Linked DNA regions of Homo sapiens: regions 1, 2, 3, 4, 5 and 6 are each linked to region 7. The links are contacts of gene promoters, found by promoter capture Hi-C in blood cells and fetal thymus (Javierre and others, 2016). All regions are on one chromosome and are shown on one strand. Each heading gives the region's core, a stretch centred on a gene start or on the middle of the fragment in contact. The rest is flanking DNA. Distances are from core to core; before and after follow the strand shown.

What was found. Contacts are between HindIII fragments. The CHiCAGO score rates a contact against its expected background, and 5 or more counts as called.
Region 1: a fragment that was not itself captured here is called in contact with the fragment with the promoter of GAB1 in region 7 in 11 of 17 cell types (neutrophils, monocytes, naive B cells and 8 more); the score reaches 28.1 in neutrophils.
Region 2: a fragment that was not itself captured here is called in contact with the fragment with the promoter of GAB1 in region 7 in 1 of 17 cell types (neutrophils); the score reaches 8.3 in neutrophils.
Region 3: a contact is called between a fragment that was not itself captured here and the fragment with the promoter of GAB1 in region 7, in 1 of 17 cell types (neutrophils). The highest score is 6.1, in neutrophils.
Region 4: a contact is called between a fragment that was not itself captured here and the fragment with the promoter of GAB1 in region 7, in 1 of 17 cell types (neutrophils). The highest score is 6.5, in neutrophils.
Region 5: a contact is called between a fragment that was not itself captured here and the fragment with the promoter of GAB1 in region 7, in 1 of 17 cell types (neutrophils). The highest score is 5.6, in neutrophils.
Region 6: a contact is called between a fragment that was not itself captured here and the fragment with the promoter of GAB1 in region 7, in 1 of 17 cell types (neutrophils). The highest score is 5.7, in neutrophils.

Annotation. Positions count from the first base shown.
Region 1 is chr4:143,507,383-143,510,436 of GRCh38, reverse strand. No RefSeq gene overlaps it. Among named protein-coding and RNA genes, the nearest start is that of SMARCA5, 4.8 kb to the left of the region's middle. The HindIII fragment of the contact is 846 bases long and covers 1,163-2,008 here.
Region 2 is chr4:143,539,841-143,542,916 of GRCh38, reverse strand. SMARCA5 (SNF2 related chromatin remodeling ATPase 5) reads right to left here. Exons shown (of 24, transcript NM_003601.4): 14 at 2,422-2,554. Among named protein-coding and RNA genes, the nearest start is that of SMARCA5-AS1, 27 kb to the right of the region's middle. The HindIII fragment of the contact is 2,050 bases long and covers 268-2,317 here.
Region 3 is chr4:143,127,173-143,130,351 of GRCh38, reverse strand. All of the region lies in intron 1 of USP38-DT (USP38 divergent transcript), which reads left to right. Among named protein-coding and RNA genes, the nearest start is that of USP38-DT, 56 kb to the left of the region's middle. The HindIII fragment of the contact is 2,556 bases long and covers 1-2,549 here.
Region 4 is chr4:143,557,771-143,561,035 of GRCh38, reverse strand. It overlaps the pseudogene GUSBP5. Among named protein-coding and RNA genes, the nearest start is that of SMARCA5-AS1, 45 kb to the right of the region's middle. RefSeq lists enhancers at 1,313-1,412, 1,543-1,652, 1,663-1,822. The HindIII fragment of the contact is 2,511 bases long and covers 581-3,091 here.
Region 5 is chr4:143,179,024-143,182,167 of GRCh38, reverse strand. All of the region lies in intron 1 of USP38-DT (USP38 divergent transcript), which reads left to right. Among named protein-coding and RNA genes, the nearest start is that of USP38-DT, 4.3 kb to the left of the region's middle. The HindIII fragment of the contact is 2,185 bases long and covers 166-2,350 here.
Region 6 is chr4:143,160,458-143,163,799 of GRCh38, reverse strand. All of the region lies in intron 1 of USP38-DT (USP38 divergent transcript), which reads left to right. Among named protein-coding and RNA genes, the nearest start is that of USP38-DT, 23 kb to the left of the region's middle. The HindIII fragment of the contact is 440 bases long and covers 1,352-1,791 here.
Region 7 is chr4:143,335,591-143,338,771 of GRCh38, reverse strand. It overlaps GAB1 (GRB2 associated binding protein 1), which reads right to left and starts at 1,896. Exons shown (of 10, transcript NM_002039.4): 1 at 1,512-1,896. The coding sequence starts at 1,583. It also overlaps the pseudogene LOC124900789. RefSeq lists enhancers at 1,157-1,970, 2,880-3,089 and silencers at 2,000-2,049, 2,120-2,179, 2,280-2,579, 2,520-2,687. The HindIII fragment of the contact is 8,165 bases long and covers 1-3,181 here.

The DNA of each region.
Region 1 (3,054 bases), core at 336-2,835, 170 kb before region 7:
GTTGTTGAATTGATCACATAATACAGAATTCATGTGTTGGTAAAAGAGTGGGTTGGGGAGCAGGCAAGCCTAGATTCCAGTGCAGGCTCTGGAACTTAGTAGCTGTGTGAATGCAGACAAGTTATCTAACCTCTTTGAAATCAATTTTCTCATCTTTTTATTATTATATTTTCCTAGCTTTATTTTGAGATAATATTATGATGTCATAAAAATTAAATGAGACAGTATAAGGTACATGATACAGTGCCTGACATATAGTGAGTTCTGGGTTCAAGTGTTAGTCTTATCCTTGAGAATCATAAGCCTAAGGTTTAGAGTCTAGTTGAAAGAAGAGGAACCAAAGAAGGAGGAGGGTAAGGGGTTTGGTAGCAAGAAAACACCAGAAAGGATTAGAGCTTTAGTCGTATTCCCAGCAACAGAATGCTACAGTGTAAAATAATGTTAGTGTTCTATCTCCAATATGTATATACATAGTTTACACCTAAAATTTCCTCTGTTAGATTTAATGTGCTAGAACAGCAAGTACAGTACAGAAATACAATGGAACAAAGAGATGTTGCCAGAGGACAAAAATGTGCCGAAGAGCCAGGGCTCTCTCAGCATTGTGTCCTTGAATGGTAACAGAAAGGAGTTAAAGTTTTCTCAAGGACAAAGAAGAAATGCAACACCTCTCTTCATTGCAACTCATTTTGTCAAAGCTTAAGAAAATAAAGTCTGATTACTGCAAGACAATAAAACTGTATTGAGTTTGTATCTAAGAATGGGTATTTCCAACACCAGATACCAATGATTACATGTTGTATGTATCTTTTTTAGAGTTCTCCCACATAGGTCATTTGTCAATGTACAGAGATTTCAGTTAAAGAGAAACATTAACTGTACTGTTAATAAACAGGTAAGGATATATTCCCTTCATTCCCCTCATATTTAGTCACCAACTAAATAGTGGGAGACTTTGTGTCTGCTCGGTATATATGCATATGTTTATGTAGTCAAAGTTTTTCAGGTTTTCTCTGCATTTCTTCCTGCTCATGAAAAAATAATTTCTTTTTTGTTGGGCTGGTTCTAGGTAAAGTATTTCTAGGAACTCAAATATTATGATCCAAAGTTAAATTTTAACCACCATCTTTGAAACATTTTTGAAATAATAAACTACAAAGCTTCAATTAAGAAATTAGAGTTTTTTTATTTAGTTTTTATCTCATTTATTAAAAGGAACTTCAGACAAAGGAAATTAGGCAGTCTTTTGCTCAAAATATTGAAAGTAAAAAGATGGAAAATATATATCATTAAAACAATAGCAAAAAGAAAACAGGAGTGGCTATATCATTATCAGATAAAGTAGACTTCAGAGCAAAGAAAATTATGAGACAAAGAGGGACATTATATAATGATGAAAGTGTCAACCCAGAAGACATAGCAATTTTAAATGTATATGTACCAAACAACAGAGCTGCAAAATATGTGAAGCAAAAGGTGACAGAACTGAAATTAGAAATAACAAATCCACAATTATATGTGGAGACTACAGCATCTCTCAACAACTGATACTACAACTAGGCAGAAAACCAGCAAGGGTATAGAAGAACTTAACAACAGCCAATAGGATCTAATTGACATTTATACAACACTGCACATATTTTTTTCTTCTACAAAAGTAGGACTATACACATTCTTTTCAAGAACCCACAGAAAATATAGCAAGATAGACCATAAACCTTAACAAATTTAAAAGATGTGAAATCATACAGAGTATGTTTTTTAACCACAATGGAGTCAAACCAGAAATCAGTAACAAAATGTTACCAGGGATATATTCAAACTAAATGACGTGCTTCTAAATAATCCATGGGTCAAAGAGAGGTCTCAAGAGAAATCAAAAAGTACATTGAACAGAATAAAAATACAATATATTAAAATTTGTGGAACACAGCTAAAACAGTGCTTAGAGGGAAATTATACACTAAATGCTTACATTCAGAAAAGAGAATAGTCTCAAATGTAAGCTTTCACCTCAAAAAACTAAAAAAAGCAGAGCAAGGATAAATCCAAAGTAAACAAAAGGAAGGAAATAATAAAGGTAAGAGCAGGAGTCAATAAAATTAAATACGGAAAATAAAAAGCAAAAACTGGTTCTTTGAAAAGATACGTAAAATTGGCAAACCTCTAGGAAGTCTGACAAGAAAGGAAGAAAGGAAAAAAAGAGAGGGTAAGAAGGAAGGAAGAAACAAAGCTCAAATCACTAATATCAGGAATAAAACAGGACCTATCATTGTAGACCTTGAAAACATCAAAAGGGTAGTAAGGAGTACGACACACATAAATTTGACAACTTAAAACCACTTCCTTGAAAAATTCAAGCCACTTAAACAGTATAAAAAGATCATATGAATAGCACTGTAACTATTTAGGAAATTAAATTGATAAATTAAAAACTCCCAAAGAAGAAATCTTCAGGCACAGATGGTTTCAATGAAAAATTCTACCAAATATTTAAAGATGAATTAATACCAATTCCATACTATCTCCTGCAGATAATAGAAGAGGATGATACACTTTGTAATTCATTTTATGAAGGTGCTTTATCTCTAATACCAAATCAGACAGACACTACATAAGAAAGAAAATGACAGACCAGTATCACTGATGAATACAGACAAATCCTTAACAAAATATTATCAGATACAATTAAACAATGTGTAAAAAGAATTATGCACCCTGATCAAATGTGATTTATTCCAGATATTCAACACTGATTCAATATTTGAGTATTAGTCAATGTTGTCTGCCATATCAACAGGCTAGAGAAGAAAACTCACATGATTATATTGACTGATGAGGAAAAAGCATTTGACAAAATTCCAACACCCATTTAGAACAAAACTCTCAGAAAAAAAAAAAAAAAGAGAAAACAAATAGAGTGGAACTTCCTCCTCTTAATACAGAGCATCAGCAAAATACCTACAGCAAACATTATACTTAGTGAGATTGAATCCTCTCCCTCTAAGATCTGAAACAGGGAAGGTTTTCTGCTTATAACATTCATATTCAACA
Region 2 (3,076 bases), core at 43-2,542, 200 kb before region 7:
GCCTTCAACTCCCTGCTCAAGCCATTCTCCTGTCTCAGCTTCCCAAGTAGCTAGGACTAAAGGCATGCACTACCACACCTGGTGAGAAAATGTATCTGGATCATCGAAGAAACTCACCATTAATAAATTAATAAATATTTTCAGTTGGCAGGAGTTTGGACAACCTTGTAATTTTTCAAAAATACAGGTATAAAAAAACAAACAAAAACCCAGAAAGACTTGTTTTCACCCTCCTCAAGGGTCACTCACATACACCTAAACAAAGCTTTGATTTTTATATGCCAACCAACTTGTAAGTAAGTGGAAAAAGATCCAAGTTTTCAACAACTTCTTTAAATACTTGTATCATGGTTTGGGACCCATAATAGGATATACAGCCAAACATCCATGACTTTGTAAGTGAGGAGATATCCACAAGGTATGTTTCCTTGGATTGGATGCTACCATTGCTACCAAAATGTTCTTATGCTTATACAAACTACTTCCAAGTTGGGCAGGAAGGTTCCGGAACCTTCAGATGTAAAGTGCTTGTGTACTCTCGTTTTTAATTATGTCCCTCAAATAAAAAACAGTAACACAAAGGTATGCACTTAAGGCTTGCTGTTTGACTAACATGTCTACAAACGGCACAAGAAAGCTATTAGCCTGAAGGTTTGCTCCAAAAATTGCCACAGTAAATATGAAGTAAAAAAACCTCAAGATTTCTAAATTAATTATGAATCAATTAAGGTCTTTTTTATCTTTAAAAAAAGTGTTTTGGACAGGCGTGGTGGCTCATACCTGTAATCCAGCACTTTGGGAGGCTGAGGTGGGTGGATCGCCTGAGGTCAGGAGTTCAAGACCAGCCTGGCCAACAAAGTGAAACCCTGTCTCTACTAAAAATACAAAAAAATTAGCCAGGTGTGGTGGCGGGCATCTGTAAATCCAGCTACTCAGGAGGCTGAGGCAGCAGAATTGCTTGAACCCAGGAAGCGGAGGTTGCAGTGAGCCGAGATCGTGCCATTGCACTCCAGCCTGAGTAACAAGAACAAAACTCCATCTCAAAAAAAAAAAAAGTGTTTCATGGATGAAAATAACTGAGAACAAGAAACACACGGCAGGTGTATTTCAAAACACATGGATGTGTGAAGAAAAATAAAACATTAGCCATTATATCACCCATGAGATAACATCACGGGGTGGCAGCCTCGAGAAGTCCCCAGAGACTTTTCTAATTAAACACTTAAGAGTTAACAAAGTTCTTGATCCCCCTTGAGTCACTTCCCAGCTGTATGTACAATGAACAAGTAATTTAACCTCTCAAAAGCCTTTATCTCTGATGCTAACATCTCAAGTTGGCATGAAGACTAAAGGAGAAAATGAAATGTTAAGTATATAGCACACTGCCTGGCACAAAGTAAACACTTTATTAAGGGAAACGATTTGTAAAAATAAGCAATAATTTATTGTCTTCAGGTATGCAGACATATGGCTAACACTATGAATAGCATTAGGGATACCAAAGACATGTACAATACTCTCTTACATGGACATCAGAGACTGACAAAATCAAGATACCTACATAATCAGTAAACAATGTAACAGTATGCCTTTCAGCTTTATAGACAGATAGTAAATACATGCTCACAAATGCAGTTACAAAGGAAACCAATGCACACTTGAAATTATTAAGTTTCCCACCCCTTTTCTTGAATTTTATATTTCCCATCATCAACTTTATAGTAGGCTTCATGAAAACATAAATTATGTCATCCTTAAAAGCTGATCTGGAATGAGAACTTAAGTTTCCTTCAATTGATCCAAAATAAAATCCCACTCTCACCCCCTACTCCTACTTATACCCTTGTTTACTTCATCTCTCCCTCCCAACTAAATTGTAAACTCTTTGAAAGTAAGAATACTTGTTTGTTCCATTTACCACTGAATTCTCAGCACCAAGAACGGTGCCTAGCATCTGGTGGGTACTCAGTAAATTGCAGACAAGAAAAAAGAATAAAATCAGGCTCTTTGATTTTTATTTCTTCAGTTTTCCCCACAGTAATCAAGAGTAGTTAGTACATATAAATCATTAACCACCACACTGAATGTCAGATATTTTATATACATTATCCCCTTTAATCCTTTAAAATCCTTAAGTGTAGTTATTTTTATCCCCACTTAACAGATGAGGAAATGGGTTCATGTAACCAGAGAGAACTGCTAACTGGCAGACTCATTATTCAAACCTCAACTGTCCTGAGCCCAAATCCATCTTTTTAATGACAAAACTAAAGTTTACTGTATTTGCAATACAAGTCATCTCTACTGGCTGCAAGCTTGACTCAATGGATGCTTAGTAACAAGAATCTTCTAAGACGATTTTCAAACAAAAACAGGTTGTGTCAATCCAACTTGGTAAAGTTTTAAAGTTCCATGGCTTACCTTGTTGAATGACTATTGAATCCAGTCTGAGTTTCATCTCAGCACGTTCTACTATTCTTTCTTCTACAGTGTTATCAGTTATAAAGCGGAACACTCTGACTGTCTTAGTCTGCCCAATTCTATGTGCTCGGTCCTAAATAAATTACCATGTTATTTTGAATTTAGTTTAAAAGTCACATAAATAACACTGAAATGGGTACACTGAGAAAAAAAATTAAAATATTCTGAAATATAAAACTTTTAAAAATTTGTAATAACACTGCATCTGTAAGGAATCAGATGAATTCTGCTAGGTTACACTGAGATAAAACACATAATGTCTCCAAACAATATACAACATTATAATTTTTAAGTCTGATGAGGAAAGATTTTAAGTCTTTTTTCCTAGGTTTAAATTCAAAATGTTTTTCTATCTAAATCAAACCCAAATTGTCACTGCTATCAGGCAAAGAAGTGACATGAAACAACTTAGCAAACAACACAAAAATTCTAACCTTTAAATATTACCCAATTAACTATATACAAGTAGTCAAACTAATCTGAATATGAATTTGTTTTACTTTTGCTAACTACATTCCTAAAAAACTCCCTTATTTCTAATAATTGGTCCATTTTCCCCTGTCACCCTTAGTAAGAGTACAAGATGAAAGTGACT
Region 3 (3,179 bases), core at 22-2,521, 210 kb after region 7:
CTATGATGAGTGATCCAGTACTGTGTCCAGTATTCTAAGAAATTCCCACTGAGCTTTAAATTGTTTTAAAATACTTTTCCTGGACTCTTCAGAGGTGTTTCAGGGGTTCTGTGAACATGCAATTTGAATATCATTTTAAAGTTCAGTTCTTATTTATTGCACACAAATGCACATGTACTATTGTAAGGCTTAAAACACAAGCAGCAGTTCTGTCCTCCATCCTCCCTATCCCCAACCCTCTCCCAACCACTTTCAATTCTTTTTAGCTTGTTTCTTCTGTTATTTCTACTATATTTCTATATACTACCCTTTCTTGCTTTTTAAATTTTAAACTTCCTGTTGACTTCCTAATATGGAAGATGAGGCTACAGCTCTCTTGTCTCCATAGAAATACACATGGCCTTTCCCGCTATGCTTTCCATACACCTGAATCATAATTTTTGGTTCAATGAATAGTAATTGTATACATAGTTTTAAATATGTAAATATTGTTCATAGCTAAGCCATGTTTATATTTCCTTTTGTGTACAATTTTTGTTTTTCATGGAGTTAAAAATTGCTTCATTTTAAAATTTGCTTTGTTTTCTATATTCATTTTACTAATTCATCCCCCCCAAGTTTTCTACAGAATCCTGGAATTCTTCTCAGTGTAGTCAATACATTGATAGTTTGTCGGTTTTAATGAAGACATCCCTCTCAGAGCCTGTGCCGTTCTGCAGTTGGGATTGATGCGTCTCTAGGCCTGCAGGGACTTCCCTTCACCATCATATGGGAATCCTCTGTGACTCTACCCTGTGTGGATTCTTCTGTGCCCTGTTTTTCATGTCTTCCTCTTTCTTAGTTTATTCCCTTAATTTGGTGGAGCACGTTCTCCAGTAGCTACCTAAAAAATGGTGAATTGGAGGTAAATTGTTGAGACCTTGCATGTCATAAAATATCTTTTCTACTCTCATTCTTATATAATAGAGAGATTGGTTTCAGCATTAATGTAGAAAAAAATTTTCCCTTAGTGTTTTGAAGGAATTATTTTTTGTCTTTTCAGTTCAATATGTATAATTTCCCTCCACAATTTTTTTTCTGAATTAATAATGAACTTAGATTTAGCCACATGCTTTCAAGGAGTTTTGAGTCTATAGGGGAAGATTTGGAATTAAAAAACTAATATTTGATTTTTAACTTATGTCAGGCAATAGTACAATATATTACTGATTTAATTTTTCATGACATTTAATTTTGTAGTAAAGCAACTGGGGCTCAGAAAAGTTAGGCAATTTGCTTGTGATCACTCAGATAAGTAGAAATTTAAACACAAGTATAGTTGACACTAAAGCCCATGTTTTTCCTGTTCTATAAGGCTGCCTTGCAACTGTTTGGTTTAGTCGTGCTTTGGGGCATGAATTTTTGTTTCATATCTGCCTCTTTCTGGCAAATCATGAATTAATATGTATAAAGTGCTTAGAGAAGTATAGTAGGTGCTGTATAATGTTCGATGTGTAATTATTAAAATTGATTTGGCTAGTCCTTTCTTTGGGTTCTGCTCTTCCTCTTTCCCACCTTGTTTGCCTAGTTAACTTCTCAATTGTGAAGTTATCAGGTCCACTTTCACTTCTCCAGTGAAGCCATTCCAACTAGACAAAGCCTCATCCTGCCCTAAACTAGGTAAGTTTCTATCCACGTCTCACATTATAAATGTATGGGACTCAGTACCTTTTTTTCATATCACAGTTGGTACTTACATGTTTTTGTATTTGTTTCAAATTTGTTTTCCCCACTAAAGTCTAATCTCCATGTTTGTTTTCTTCACCTTTATACCCACAGAACCTAGCAAAGACTTGAAATATAGGTATTATGTAAATAATTGTTGAAATTTTGTTGAATAAATGAATACTGAGCACAGGAAAATCTAAATATATGTTTTCTGTCCTACTGCAGTAGTATATTTTACTAGAAAGTTAATTAAAAAACAAACAGCTGCTATCATCTTTTCAGCATTTCTTATGTACTGTAGCTCAGAGAAAACCATTCTCCCTATATGCTTGCCTCAGAGAAGGTGGAGGTTGCAATTCATTAGTGGGTTATGAAGTCAATTTAGTGAATTGTGATCAGCTTTAAAAATGATATAAAAGAGAAGAGAAAGTGTCAGAGTGCATCACATGTAGTAAGAGGTATTATTTCATGAAACATTTGTTTCAGATTATATTATATAAAATATATATGATTATGTAAAGAGGACCACATTATGAAGACTATTTTTTATTGTGGATATGGTCATAAAGTTTTGCCAAGCCAGTATTTCTAGAGCAGGGTTTGGCAAACCTTTTCTGTAAAGAACAACATAGTAAATATATTCCATTTTGTGGGCCATATGGTCTTTGTCACAAATGTTCAGCTCTGCCATTATAGTATGAAAGCAGCCATAGACAATAAGTAAACAAATGGACATGGTTATTTTCCCATACAACCATACAAAAACAGAAGGCTGGGAAGATTTGACCCAAAGGCTATATTTGCAGACCCCTTCCCTAGGGGGACAGGTTGGCAGGGAAGCTTTTATCCCTCTCCCTATTCTGTTTGTTGGAGAAGATAATGTAATTAATTTGGGATAATCTGATTAATCTGACAGTTCTTGCTTAGTGGATGAGAAAATAGGGAAATAGGCCACTCCCTAAGTGAAGGTACTTTAGACTTTCATTCTCATCCTTTTTAGCACATTCTGTAAGTCAAAGAAAGTCAGAAGGCCAGCTCAGATTTAAGGGGTTGGGAAATAGACTTTACCTCTTGATGGGAGGAGCCAAAATAAATTAGTAGCCACACTTCATCTATCACAGTCCACTCCCTGGCTACAATTACAGTTGACCCATGAACAACATGAGTTTGAACTGCATGGGTTCACTTCTATGAGAATTTTCTTCCACCTCTGCCACCCCTGAGACAGCAAGACCAACCCTCCCCTTCCTCCTCCTCTTCCTTCTACTCAACGGGAAGATGATGAGGTTGAAGACCTTTATGATGATCCACTTCCACTTAATGAATAGTAAATATATTTTATCCTCCTTATGACTTTCTTAATAGCATTTTCTTTCTCTAGTTTACCTTAATCATGTATATAATTATATAATGCACACGAAATATATGTTAATCAGCAGTTTATGTTATTGGCAAGGCTTCCAGTCAACAGT
Region 4 (3,265 bases), core at 587-3,086, 220 kb before region 7:
TGGTCACAAGTGTTTCATAGTATAATCACATCCTCTTGTTTAAGTGGCATAGGCTTAGGATTGTTATTTTTCTTTAGCATACACATAAACAGGGGCCAAAATTGAACTCAACTGCTGTATATTGGCTACATCAAATATTGCAGTAAGAATCTGGACTTTGGGGTTTGAATGGACAAATCTATATTATAATTTTCCTCTGATATTTTACAAATAAACTTTTCCATCAAGGAGTCTACACACACTGGTTCTACATTTTCTTTACCATCAGATCCTGTTTTGAACACTACCATGCCACTGAAGAAAACTGTTCTCTCCAAGGTCAATCTGCACTGACCTGTATCAGTCATTAAATCCAATGCCTCCTTCCAAATTTTCCACAGCAGCTTTCAAAACCTGTGACATTCTGGGTCTCCTCCCATAACTGACTCCCACTTTACAGGCAGTAAAATGTAGAAGACAATGCATGGACAATAAAGTTATACCATTCTGGATCAAGCAAATCTGTTCCAGTTTTGAATTCTCACTCAACCACCTATTGGCTACACAACTTTAAACTAGTGGGTTCACAAACCCCTAAGCTTTACTTTCCTAACCTATATAATGGAAGCAATCATATCCACCAAATGTTGTGGTTATGAAAACTAAATAATAATATTGTCTTTTGGCACACGGTTAGACATTAAATGAATGTAAGTTTTCATCTTTCTTTTGTATCCTCTATCACTTCCTTGACTATTTTGTCTTCTTTCAACAAAGTCTCTCCTGTTATTTTCATTTATTCCATTAACTATCAGTTTTTGAAGGGCTCATGTAAATATTCAGCTCCACACTTATTGAAAATTTCTTAATTACTTACAAAATTTGTAAGTCACTGATATGTGACTTACCTAATGTAATTACCCTAATGTAATGCCCCACGGGGTGGGACAGGAAGGTGGGTGTCTGCGGTGGAAGCAGGATGGTACCCACGTGGAGGTGTCGGCCATGTCGAGGATGCTCCCTGGTGGCAGGGTGGAGGAGATGAGCATGTTGCCGATGGTGATAGTGATGCGGAGGCGGGAGGGCAGGGGCCCCACCTGGAACAGGCTACTGATGTCGGTGTCAAAGGGGAGGTAGATCCCTCATGCTCTAGCGCGTCGACCCCATTCACCCACACGATGGCATAGGAGTGGGCACTGACAATCCTCAGTACCACTCTTGTGTGCAGGTCCTGGGTCCATTGCTCCAGGAAGGTCACCTCCCGTTCGTACCACATCTGGTCTACAAAATGCCGCAGCCGCCAGTCCTGGCCAACGTCGTTGAAGCTGGAGGGAACCGGTATGTCCATGGTGGAGCCCGACTCTCGCAGCAGACGCCGATACCACTACTCCTAGAAGCCAAGGCACAGTTTGTCGAAGAAGTCGGCGCGGAAGCTCCAGAGGCGGTCCAGCTTCTTCCGCTCCCGCGACGGCCTCTCTCTTGGGTACAGCATCCCGCCCTGCAGCGCCAGCGCGCAGCCCCACAACAACGGCCCGAGCGCCTACCAGGCGTCCGCCGCCCCCCGGACCATGCTTTCCGCTCCTCTGCTGGGCCGCCGTCTGCGGGCCTATCAGCAGCGCGGGAGGAGCCCTGCGGACTGGTCGCGCGCGACGTGACGCGCCAGTCGCGCAGAGGGAAAGTATTTTTTTAAAACCAAGAGATTTGAACTGACGAACAATTACAAATACCCAAAGTGATGATTTGTCCCCCTGTGTTTAAAAGTCTTGGTGCTAGACAATCAAGGATGTTTCCAACATGTACGTAGAAGACTCTGACCTTCTAGCACCACTGTTCGGGTGTTAAACCCGGCCTAGTCCTACGTGACTGCCTGCGCCTTTCTGTATTCTAGTCTTTCACTCCCAGCTGCAGCTGGTAGCCGGCAGCGTTTGACCTGCAGTGGGCAGCTCACCTTTGTTCCTAACACTGCCATCTCGCGGATGGGGTCTGCAGCCGCCAATCAGAGCGTCAAGGTGAGCCTGGGGAGACCTCTACAGGTGCCTGTGGTTTCATTGTAACTACCTAAACTATTCATTCTCTTATCAAGCACCCACCCAGTTCCAGTACTGTCCAGTTACAATAAGGAGCCCAATGATAATTTTTTTTAAAGATTAGTTCCTGCTGTGAAGAAACTAAACTCAGCGTACTCTTGAAGGAGCTCCCTCTAACTTATCTTACGACTATTAAGGGTGAGAAAAAAGCACTGTGGCGTCTGCAGCATTTAGATTGGTAGGAGTATTCTGCAAGACTTGTGCCATTACTTTTATCAAGTTGGCTCCCAGGGAAAGAGGTGGCTGGGGAGGAGGGGGAGCGCAAAAAATAGGAGGCTGGGGGAAAGCCAATACCCAGAGAAAAGACCTTTCTACAACTGGAAAGCATACTAAGAAAGCAAACCTATCCATCTACTGGGATTAAAGGGCATATAAAATGAAAAAAAAAAAAGTTACTCCTTGCAAAGCTAGGATGACCAGATGGCCCCTTGCCACCTCCCAGAAGGGAATCTGAAAGTCAGCTAATCACCAGCCTGTTTGTGAGGAAGAGCCAGTAAGAACTCCGCCTTTGCACAGCAAATCTGTATCATCTATTCTTCTTTTTCCCTCCACTCAGGATCCCTACACCCAGCCAGCATGGGCATCAAGGAAAGCAGGCTGGTAAACTTCAGGGCAGAGATCCGCTTCTGAAGGCAGCTAGTAATGTCTCACCCAGCTAAGCCTTGCTACTAGGCAACAGCACTGCCTCACTCAAGAAATTATCAATCTGCATCAGGCCAGATGCAGTGGCTCACACCTGTAATCTCAACATTTGGGAGGCGGAGGCAGGCAGATCATTTGAGGCCAGGAGTTCGAGACCAGCCTGGCCAATATGGTGAAACCCTGTCTCTACTAAAAATACAGTAATTAGCCAGGTGTGGTGCATGCCTGTAGTCCCAGCTATCCGGAAGGCTGAGCCAGGAGAATTGCTTGAACCTGGGTGGCAGAGGTTGCAGTGAGCCTAGATCGCACCACTGCACTCCAACCTGGGTGACAGAGCAAGACTCTGTCTCAAAAGTCACTAGTGTGCATGAGACACAGAAGCTTTGACAAAAATTCAAACAGCCATGGAGAAATACCGATGGTCTACAGAAGCAGTGCTTAGTCCTTGCTAGAATTCTCTAGTTTTGAAACATGGGAATAAGTAGAACTGCCAATGTGTCTGATGAGTAACTGTGGTATTTATTGCAACTGAGCTCTAGAAAGAGGCTACTGTTGTC
Region 5 (3,144 bases), core at 9-2,508, 160 kb after region 7:
AGCAGCCTCACTACCCTATTTTAAATCTTCCAGTGCTTCTCCTCTTAAAATTCAAATGGCTACTGTTGACTTTAAGGCCCTCCATCAAGTTGCTCTTGTGTCTTTTCCTACTGTTCTCATTTATTATATGTTTACAGCCTTTTTCTGTTCTCTAGAATCTAAGCTTCATGAGGTCAAAAAGAACCCCTTAATTTTATTAGTTACTTCTATATCTAGCAGTTAGAACACTAGGGTAAACAATCTATCAATTTTTTTTGTCTGTGAGATGAAGTCTCTCACTCTGTTGCCCAGGCTGGAGTGCAGTGGTGTGATCTCAGCTCACTGCAGTCTCAGCTCACTGCAATCTCCACTTCCTGGGTTCAAGCAATTCTTCTTCCTCAGCCTCCTGAGTAGCTGGGATTATAGGCACCCACCACCACACCTGGCTAATTTTTGTATTTTTAGTAGAGATGGGGTTTCACCATGTTGGCCAGGCTGGTCTTGAACTCCTGACACAAATGATCCTCCCATCTCAGCATCCCAAGGTGCTGGGATTACGTGAGCCACCATGCCCAGTTCAATCTAACTATTTTTTGAATGAATGAACTTTTAAAAAATGAAATGAAAAACATGGTTTAGAAAAAGTCGTAAGGAGTCTACACAGTAATTTCTAGAACTAAAAAACAAACTCAGCAGGGTTTCAGAATATAAGATAATAGACAAAAATCAGTTGTACTTTTATGTACTAGCAATGAACACATGGAAACCAAAATTAAAAATATACCATTGATAATTGCTCAAAATAAAAACTATGTAGGTGTAAATCTGACAGTGGATGTACAGGACTCATGCTGAAAACAACAAAACACTGATGAAAGAAATCGAAGATCTAAATAAATGACCATATACATGGATTGGAGGACTCACCATAGTGTAGATGTTAATGATCTCTAAATCGATATGCAGGTTTAATACAATTCCTATTAAAACTCCAGGCAGGTTTTTTTTTTCTTCTTCATATACAGGCAAGATTATTCTAAAATGTATTTGGAAAAACAAATCAGAGTAGCTTCAACAATTCTGAAAAGGAGGAATTAAGTGAGAGGGATCATTTTACCTGTGTTTGTTCTTATGCTGCTAATAAAGACGTATCTGAGACTGGGTAATTTATAAAGGAAAGGTTTATAAACACAGTTCAGCATGGCTGGGGAGGCCTCAGGAAACTTAAAATCATGGTGGAAGGGGAAGCAAACATATCCTTTCACATGGCAGCAGGAAGGAGAAGAACGAGAGCTGAGCTAAGGGGGAACCCTGTTATAAAATCATCAGATCTCGTGAGAACTTATATCACGAGAACAGGAAGGGGGAACCTGCCCCCATGATTCAATTATATCCACCTGTTTCTTCCTTCAACACGTGGGGATTATGGGCATTGCAATTCAAGATAAGATTTGGGTAGGGACAGAGCCAAACCATATCACTACCCAAAAATAATACTCATTGTATGCCAGGGTAATTAAGACAGTATGGTAATGGCAGAGAGACACATAGATCAGTGAAATGGGCAACAATAACCTAGACCCACACAAATACACCAAACTGATTTTTGACAGAGATTCAAAAGCCATTCAGTGAAGGAAGGATGGTGTTTTCAACAAATGGTGCTGGAGTAACTGGATGTTCATAGGCAAAAAAGAAATGAGAAAATTCTATAACTGGGAGAAAACAACAGTACCACTGGACTGTACTGCTACAGGGTTTCACAGAAGCCCCAAACTTATTTGGTCAAATCTTAGTCCTGGAGGAATTCCAACCTTCCAGGGGAACCCAGTTGTTACAATATGTAGATGAACTTTTAATATCTGGCAAAAGGAAGGCCGAGTGATCAGAAACCACCATAATCTTGCCTTATTTTCTTTGAGAAAGGGGATTGCGAGTCTCTAAGAACAAATTGCAGTTTGTAGAAAAAGAAGTTAAATATTTAGGACACCTGATTGGTGAAGGGAAGTGGATAATAAACTCAGAATATTGGGAATAGTGGGTTTGCCTTTGCCTAAGACAAAGAGAAAACTCCAAAAATTTTTAGGTTTAACTGGCTACAGTAGGTTATGGATTGACTCATATGCTTAAAAGACAAAATTCTGTATCTCAAGTTACTAGAAGAGGAGCCCAATCCCTTGTAATGGTCCCTAGATGAAATTAAGGCAGTGAAAGAGCTAAAGCAGGCCCTCATTACAGTCCTGGTCCTGGCCCTCCCATCTTTAGAGAAACCATTCTATCTGTTTGTAACAGTAGACCGGGGCATGGCCCTTGGGGTGCTCACTCAAACCTGGGGAGGGAAGAGGCAACCTGTTGCTTTTGTCTCCAAGCTTCTCGATCCTGTCTCTCAGGGGTGATCTGAATGTGTGCAAGCAGTAGCTGCGACAGCCCTGCTGGTAGAGGAGAGTCGAAAGCTAATGTTTGGTGGGGCCCTAATAGTAAACACCCCACACCAGGTCAGGAATATATTAAATCAGAAAGCTGGGAGATGGTTAGTGGATTCTCAGATTCTAAAATATGAAGCCATATTACTAGAAAAAGATTATTTGGTTGTAACACCAGATACTTGCCTGAATCCAGCCAGTGTCCTATGGAAAGGAGACCAGAACAAAGAGACATCAGATCATAACTGCTTAGATACCATAGAATACCAAGCCAAAGTTAGACCAGACCTTAGGGAAGCTCCACTACGTGATGGATTAGACTGTTTGTGGATGGGTCATCCGGAGTGATAGATGGCAAGGGACTTAATGGTTATGCTGTCTTTGATGGAAATAAACACTCATTATGTGAGAAAGGTAGATTACCTAATGGCTGGTCGGCCCAAAAATGTGAATTACATGCTCTTGACCAGGCCCTAAAGCTCCTTGAAGGCCAGGAAGGAAATATATATACTGATTCTAAATGTGCCTATGGGGTGGTACACACTTTTGGAAAAATCTGGACAGAGCGGGGCCTAATAAATAGCAAGGGAAAAGAATTGGTACACGGGGAACTGGTCAAACAGGTTTTAGAAAGTCTCCTGCTTCCAGCAGAGGTAGCCATAGTTCATGTAAATGATCATCAGAACGGGAACACTATAGAAGCTGTAGGAAACAGGTTTGTGGATGAAGCTGCTAGGCAAGC
Region 6 (3,342 bases), core at 322-2,821, 170 kb after region 7:
ACTCATTGTAGGTGAGTGAATGTGCCTGTGGTGATTGCTTCTATTTTCTCAGTATAATAAAAAGCAAGATCATCAGTTGAGAATGAGACTGACAGAGGAAGAGATGGAGATTTTAAGAGAGAGGTGAAGTGATGTAATAGTTGTTTAGAACACTGGAAATAAGTATAATTCCTAGCCAGCATTAAGGGCCTGTTTGAAGTTAGTGATACCAGTCAATTTGTTCATTTTGTTTTCCTCCAGCTGCGTTCACATGTACAGGTGTACAGGTGTAAGCATGGAATAGGTAGAGAGTTGGACAGAACCAGGGTGGTGTCTTAGCCAAGTACAAGGAAGCAAGCTAAGGGCAGGAAAGTTAGGCTGTATGCAAGGGAGGGATTATGATGGACCACGGAATTTAAGCTGAATAAAAATGAAGTGAGTAAATAATATAAGGGGCGAAGGACAATAAAAAGATGTTAGGATCAATGAATTACAGGTTCTGGTAGGTCAGAGGGTTGTTGGAATTCTCCAAATTCCAACTAGAGGGAGTGAGCTGGAAAGATAGGAGTTGGTGCTCAGAAAACCGAATGTTTTAAATTGAAATGATAGAGGGGCTGTAGTTATTGGGAATGACATTTAGTTATGACCATGAGAGTAAGTGGCTGGAAGAGGGGGGAGGGCAAAACCATTAAAGGAGATCAAGTCAAAGAACTGTGTGACAATATACTGGAAAGGTAATTTATGTGGACATTGAAGTCAGCCGAGAATTATGACAGGAATAAGGTTTGTGACAGTATCAGTGAGTCAGGAGCTACAATCTTGAGGATATGAGGTAGAAGGAGAGTGACTTGGAGGTTGTTTGAGCACTGCATCAGGGAAAGGTTGATAGCGCTATAGTTTGATTTAATAAAATCTAAATGAAGGAGGGAGGCGGAATAGTCTGGAAGGAGTAACAAGTAATAAGAATGTCACCTTCTTAATCTCTAGACCCAATAGCAGTAGAGTTTGAGGGAAAGAACATCTACCTTTTGAGTAAGCTGCAGACAAGAGGGCTACAGGGTTGATCAAGTAAAAATTAAGTGAATGTTGAGGTGATTTTGCTGGTGACTGTCTGAGTCTTAGCATAGTGGAAAGATTTCAGGAGTTGGGCAGAGATAAGAAATGGAGTTAAATAAGGGGATGTTCAGAACCTTTTGGGAATTAGAGTCCTGAGGATGAGTTGATTTTGACTTTTTGTGGCAACTAGAATCAACAGGCATAAAGGGCATAATAAACTTAATCTTGATGAAAGTCTTTAATAAAAGCTTTAAATTCACAATTGAAGCTATAATGAAACAAACGTGCAACCTCAATGCAGATTCAAGGACAAGCTTGGTTTTAGATTAGTCATGAGTGAAATGCCTGTTGGCAAAATGTCTGCCTTGTGAAGGCCTTGTGACTGAATTGTGAAATTATTAGTGCTAATTACAGAATTTCTCTATTACAAAGGGGCCCAAGAGAAGAGAGTGGTGGGATTGGTGGAAAAGCTAAAAATTGGATTCTGTTTGTTTATTGGTTTGTTTGAGATAAAAAGATAATGAGACTTGTTTTAAAGACTTGTAATAGAAACTTCGAATATAATCTACAAGTACATTGTTGCAAAGCTAAAGAAAGTGTGTCCTCTTTTAGTGGAACTTATAGGCAATGGCAGTACTATTTTTTTGTCTAGTCAAAAAATTCTTCTGTCTTAATATATCTCATAATTAGGTTTCATATTATGCTATTGATCAAGTCATCTGGAGGTGATAGATCGCAAGGATAAATTATTAAGCTTGGCTTACTGAAGATGCATATTTTAGTTATTTAAGTGATTCATTTGCTCTACTCCAAGTTTTTTTGATACTTACCAATGATATGTCTCACAGTAGCTTTAACTTCCTATAGATTATTATAAGATTAATAAAAGACCTTAGAAAAAGAACAGAGTTTCAACTAATCAGTAGTTAAAGGCCACAGGCATTATCTAATTTGGTTAGATTTTTATAGTTAGATTACGGGTCAACCCTACATTTCAACTCTCCTACTTCAGTTCCCAGACTCTTCAAATTTTGTTAAGAATAAGTCTAAACCAGACTAAGTGGTTACACTGTTAATTCATGCTATCCAATCTCAGCTGTGCCCTCAGTGCTGTTAACAAAGTTTTATATTTATCTCTAAATATTTCCTATTTCCCCAGTGCCTAAGCATGCCATACCTGCCTCTCTTTCTTTATAACAGCCTTCATTCTTACTGCATTGGAAAGATTGAGGATTGTTAACAACAACTTTCTTAATTTGTCTCCTCTTCAATAGAAAAAAAAGGTTTTGTATAATGTTTTTCTTCCTTTTCTTAATCCTGATGCTTTTTTACCTTCCATCCCTCCCCACCTTCTGTGATATGTTGCTTCATCAGTCATATCCTTGTATCAACAGTCTCTCTCTACCATTCTGGCTTTCCCTCAACAGACAGACATCTTCCTTTCCTCAAACTTGAATTCATCTTATCTATTTGCCCTTTAGGAGCTCACCGTATTTTAACAACAATTTATATAGTGACACGTACCTTATACCATTTAAATAGCATGAAAAATAATGTTTACTTGCCTCTGATAGCCCAGGAGTCATGCCTTAGTGAGCCTCGGTGAAAATTTTTAATGCAATTTGTGTTATTGTTGGAGGCATTTTTTTGAAACAAATCAGTAAAATTATTAAATGTTAGAAACAGATCATGTGAGCTATGCTATTTACCTCATGCTGTTTATTGTGGGCCGTGGGATGTTTATTACAGAGTCAGGCAGGGTTTGTCTGTTCTGGGATTTTATTTTACCATGCCCACAAGCTAAAAAGTTAGCCTGTTACTGTTTCATCCATGCTGATGGAAGACATGTGTTTCCTGGGTCAGAGAGGAAGTACATTATTACTTATTACAGTAAGAAGCAGGAGCATCAGTATGTTTGTATTGGTTCACCTTGTTTCTCATTCTCATGTGGGCGACACAGAGGACCAGCTGGAAGCCATGCAGTAAGTCGTGTTACAAGACAGCAACACTGAACTTGGGGTTCCGCAGCTTTTATAGTGAATAATAAGCAAGACTGCTCTTTTTTCTGGGGTGGAGGCATTACTTTATCACTCAAAGTTGCTTACTACAATCTCAACCTTGAGAAATGTTCTGGACCAGAAGTGGTCAGGGCCTTGCATTCTTGGCACATCATAAAAGAATGTGCAGGATGCTAAGGGCCAATGGCAGATGGCCCCTTCGAATAGGTCCTTTCAGTTCTGGGATCTCTTTCTAACAGTGCTTAGGGAAAGAAATTCTTCACATCAGGATTTTTAAAAACAACAAACA
Region 7 (3,181 bases), core at 647-3,146:
TTTATCTCCCTACCCCTTTCTCCCTTCCTTCTCTGTCACATACACACACACACACACACCCCTACCTTTCTCTTTAGAACAGCTGGAAAAAAAAACACTGCCTCGTTCATATTTTTGGAATAAAGTTAGCATTTTTACTAGGATATTCAGGAAAACTGATAGATGGACAGGATTTGGAGGCATTACACATCTCTGGAGAGCTTTCTTATGATTTGTGGCATCGAGTCTTTCAATAAAATTACTTGTCTATAATAAATTCTGGCAGAAAGTAAATCAGAAATTCACTGGTGAGTTGTCAGTGAAGTTAAATACTTCACTCTGTGTACTTCACTCTGTTCTATACAAGCAAACAGTGACTAACAGGATTAACCTGAGCTCTAATACTGGGTGTAGATATTCCTCAACGACAAACGGGTTCCCTTCGTACAGGCATTAAATTTATATTATATTTAAGGGGGCATAAATTTTGCTTTTGCAAACACATTTTACTAGAAAAATATTTGATCCAGATGTCAGCACAAAAGTGTCATTTCTTTCCTTTGCAAGGGAGCAGCAACAAAACAACCAATGGGGAGGAAGAATAAGATCCCAGACCTCTGAAGAGGACACAGGTTTCCACTAAAGCAAGGTTGATACTTTCAAGGAATATTTTTCCTAACAGCTAAAACGGTTTAACACATAGCATCTTGTATCAATTACACAAACACCATTAAAGCCACTCTGGTTCCCTGGGAAAGGACCGCAACTGAAATCCCTTCTGGCTTCAGCTGTCCCCTCCTGCCGAGTTTGACAGCACATCCAAGGCGCCCAAACACCAGCCACTAGGCTCCCCCCCAGCGCCCTCCTCTCGCAGCAAACCGCCAAGGCTCCCGGGCCAAACTCCAAAGTCCCTCAATTCAAAACCGCGAAAATGTGAACCCTGCTAAGCAAACGGCAGGGCGCGTAATAACTTTTCTTTCTTTCCCTTTTGCGCGCGTTCGATATGCTTGTCTCTACTACCAACTCCTCAGCTCCACAGCCCGCTTCCCGCAACCCATCTCGAGGGGCGGAGGAGAGGGAGCGCCCACCAAAGAAAGGGCTAGTGAGCCCTAAAACCTCGGCAGTTTTCCCGGTGCGGGAGCTTTAGCACACATCAGCCCAATAATCAGATGCAGGAATAAAGCAGGAAGAAGGCTCCTCTCTCCATCGCACCCCATCCTTCCTAAGGAAGAAAAAAAGCATGCAGCAGGAGTTTAGCTGGACGTCTAGGTCCTTTTATGGGGCGAACAGGCCCGCAAAGCAGGCTGTCTGGAACCTGGAGGAAGAAAGTTGTCCGGCCAAGTGGATGCCTGGGCGTGAGGGAGTGCAAGGCACCCTGTCCCGAGCCCGCCAGGGGTAGGGGCCAAGGGGAAAGAGACCGGCATTCGTTTAAGAACCAGCCCCGCGCGCGGCCAGCTGCAGCCGCCGGCGAGCCGACTGGGGAGGGGTGTGGACGCCGAGGCCCGCGGAGTGGTGCCCGCAGCTCTACTTACATAACGCTTCAACTTTTTCTCCGGGGGGGACTTGCGGAGCCATCCGGAGCAGACCACTTCACCACCGCTCATGGTGCGCGCGTCTCGGGCTCCGGGCCGGGCAGCTGAGGGGCGGCGGGCGCGCTCCCGACACAGCCGACGCCTGCCGAGCGCGCAGTGGCGAGAACCTAGCTCTCCTGGTCGCGCACCCCGGACGGACTGGGCGGACAGACTCCACGGTGCGCGGGTTCCACGAGTTCGAGTCTCTCCTCTGCAGGCCCACGAACCTGAACAGAACGCGAGCCGGGGCCGCGGGCGCGCCGGCCTCCTTTCAGTGCGCCCGCCTCGCCTCCAGACGTGCCGTCTCGCCAGCTGCCTCAGCAGCGCTCGGACTCAGCGGGACTCTGCCCCGACTCGGTGCCGGAGCTTCTGTCCTTTGCGCTCCGCCCCCTAGGGACAAGACCTCCCCAGAGCGCTTTCCGAAACAGACACAGCGCTGCTCACACACACACACACACACACACACACACACAATGCCCCGCGCGGTGCCCGCTCGCCCGCCCACCCGCCCTCGGTTTCGATGCGCCCGGAGCGATCCTCCTTCCCTCTCCTCGGGGGAGGGTGGGTCACTTCGCGGCGCTCGGTGAACGCCGAGGAAAGGGGAAGCCGCGAGCCGCCTACGGGCAGCGGGCGCGGGGCTGGTCCCGGGTCACAGAGGGAGCCGCAGGGTTGGCAGCGAAGCGCGGGGCGTTTCTGAGCGGCGGGCGCAGGGAGGTCGCAGGTCAAGCCGGAGGGTGGGTCCGCTCTCGCGGCCGCCGAAGAGGGCGGGGAGCAGCAGAGGAACGAGGCGCTTGGCGGCTTGGCTCCTGGGAGGGATCCCGCTGTCCCGTCCCCTCGCGCTCCTCCCCCGCCGCCTCCCCCACCCCGGGGCTCGCGGCAGGTCCTGAGCGGCTCGGCCCCAGATCCCGATCCCTCCCTCCCTCTCCCGGCCGCCGGGCTCCTTCTTCCTCCCTCTCCTCCTCCCCTTCCCACGTTCAGGCCCGGCTCCGGTTTCTGCCCAGACTTTCTCTGAAACTCCGCCGGAGTGCTTCCAGCCAAAACAACAAGGGCCGGGGGAGGAGACGGACGAAGGGAGGGAGCAAGGGAGGGAGGGAGCGCGAGTCCGAGAGGCACCCTGGGATCTGTAGTTCGGGAAGCAGGAGCAGGGTCCTCCGCCGTCCGGCGGCCCCCAATCGGCTCCTCGCCCGGGAAGACCGCAGAGGCCTCGGCTAGGGCAGAGGCACCGGGGCTTGGGCGCGGGGAAGACTGAGGGACATTCGAATGTTCAGTCCGGGGCTTGCCATCTTGACTCAGCCCGGTGCCAGCTCGGAGCTTGTGCTGTGCTCGAGATCAGGAGTTTCGAGGGTTTTCTTTACTTGAGAGCCTGAAAGGCAAAACCGCGGGGAGACCACCATCCTGCCGGTCCCCGCCGCGCGAGATTAAAGGACAGACCAAGAGGGCGCGGGAGCTACCAGCTTGGAGGGGAGGACAGATGGGGACCCAGGGCTGGCCAGGGCTGGTCTCTGGAGCTGTTCTGCCAGAGTGATGGGGGCGCTTGGCGAGGCCAAGGATTTGGTTGGGTCCTATCTCTGAGACATTTTGAAGTCTCACACCCCTTCCATTTGTTGCCTATTCCACTTAACTTTGTATTT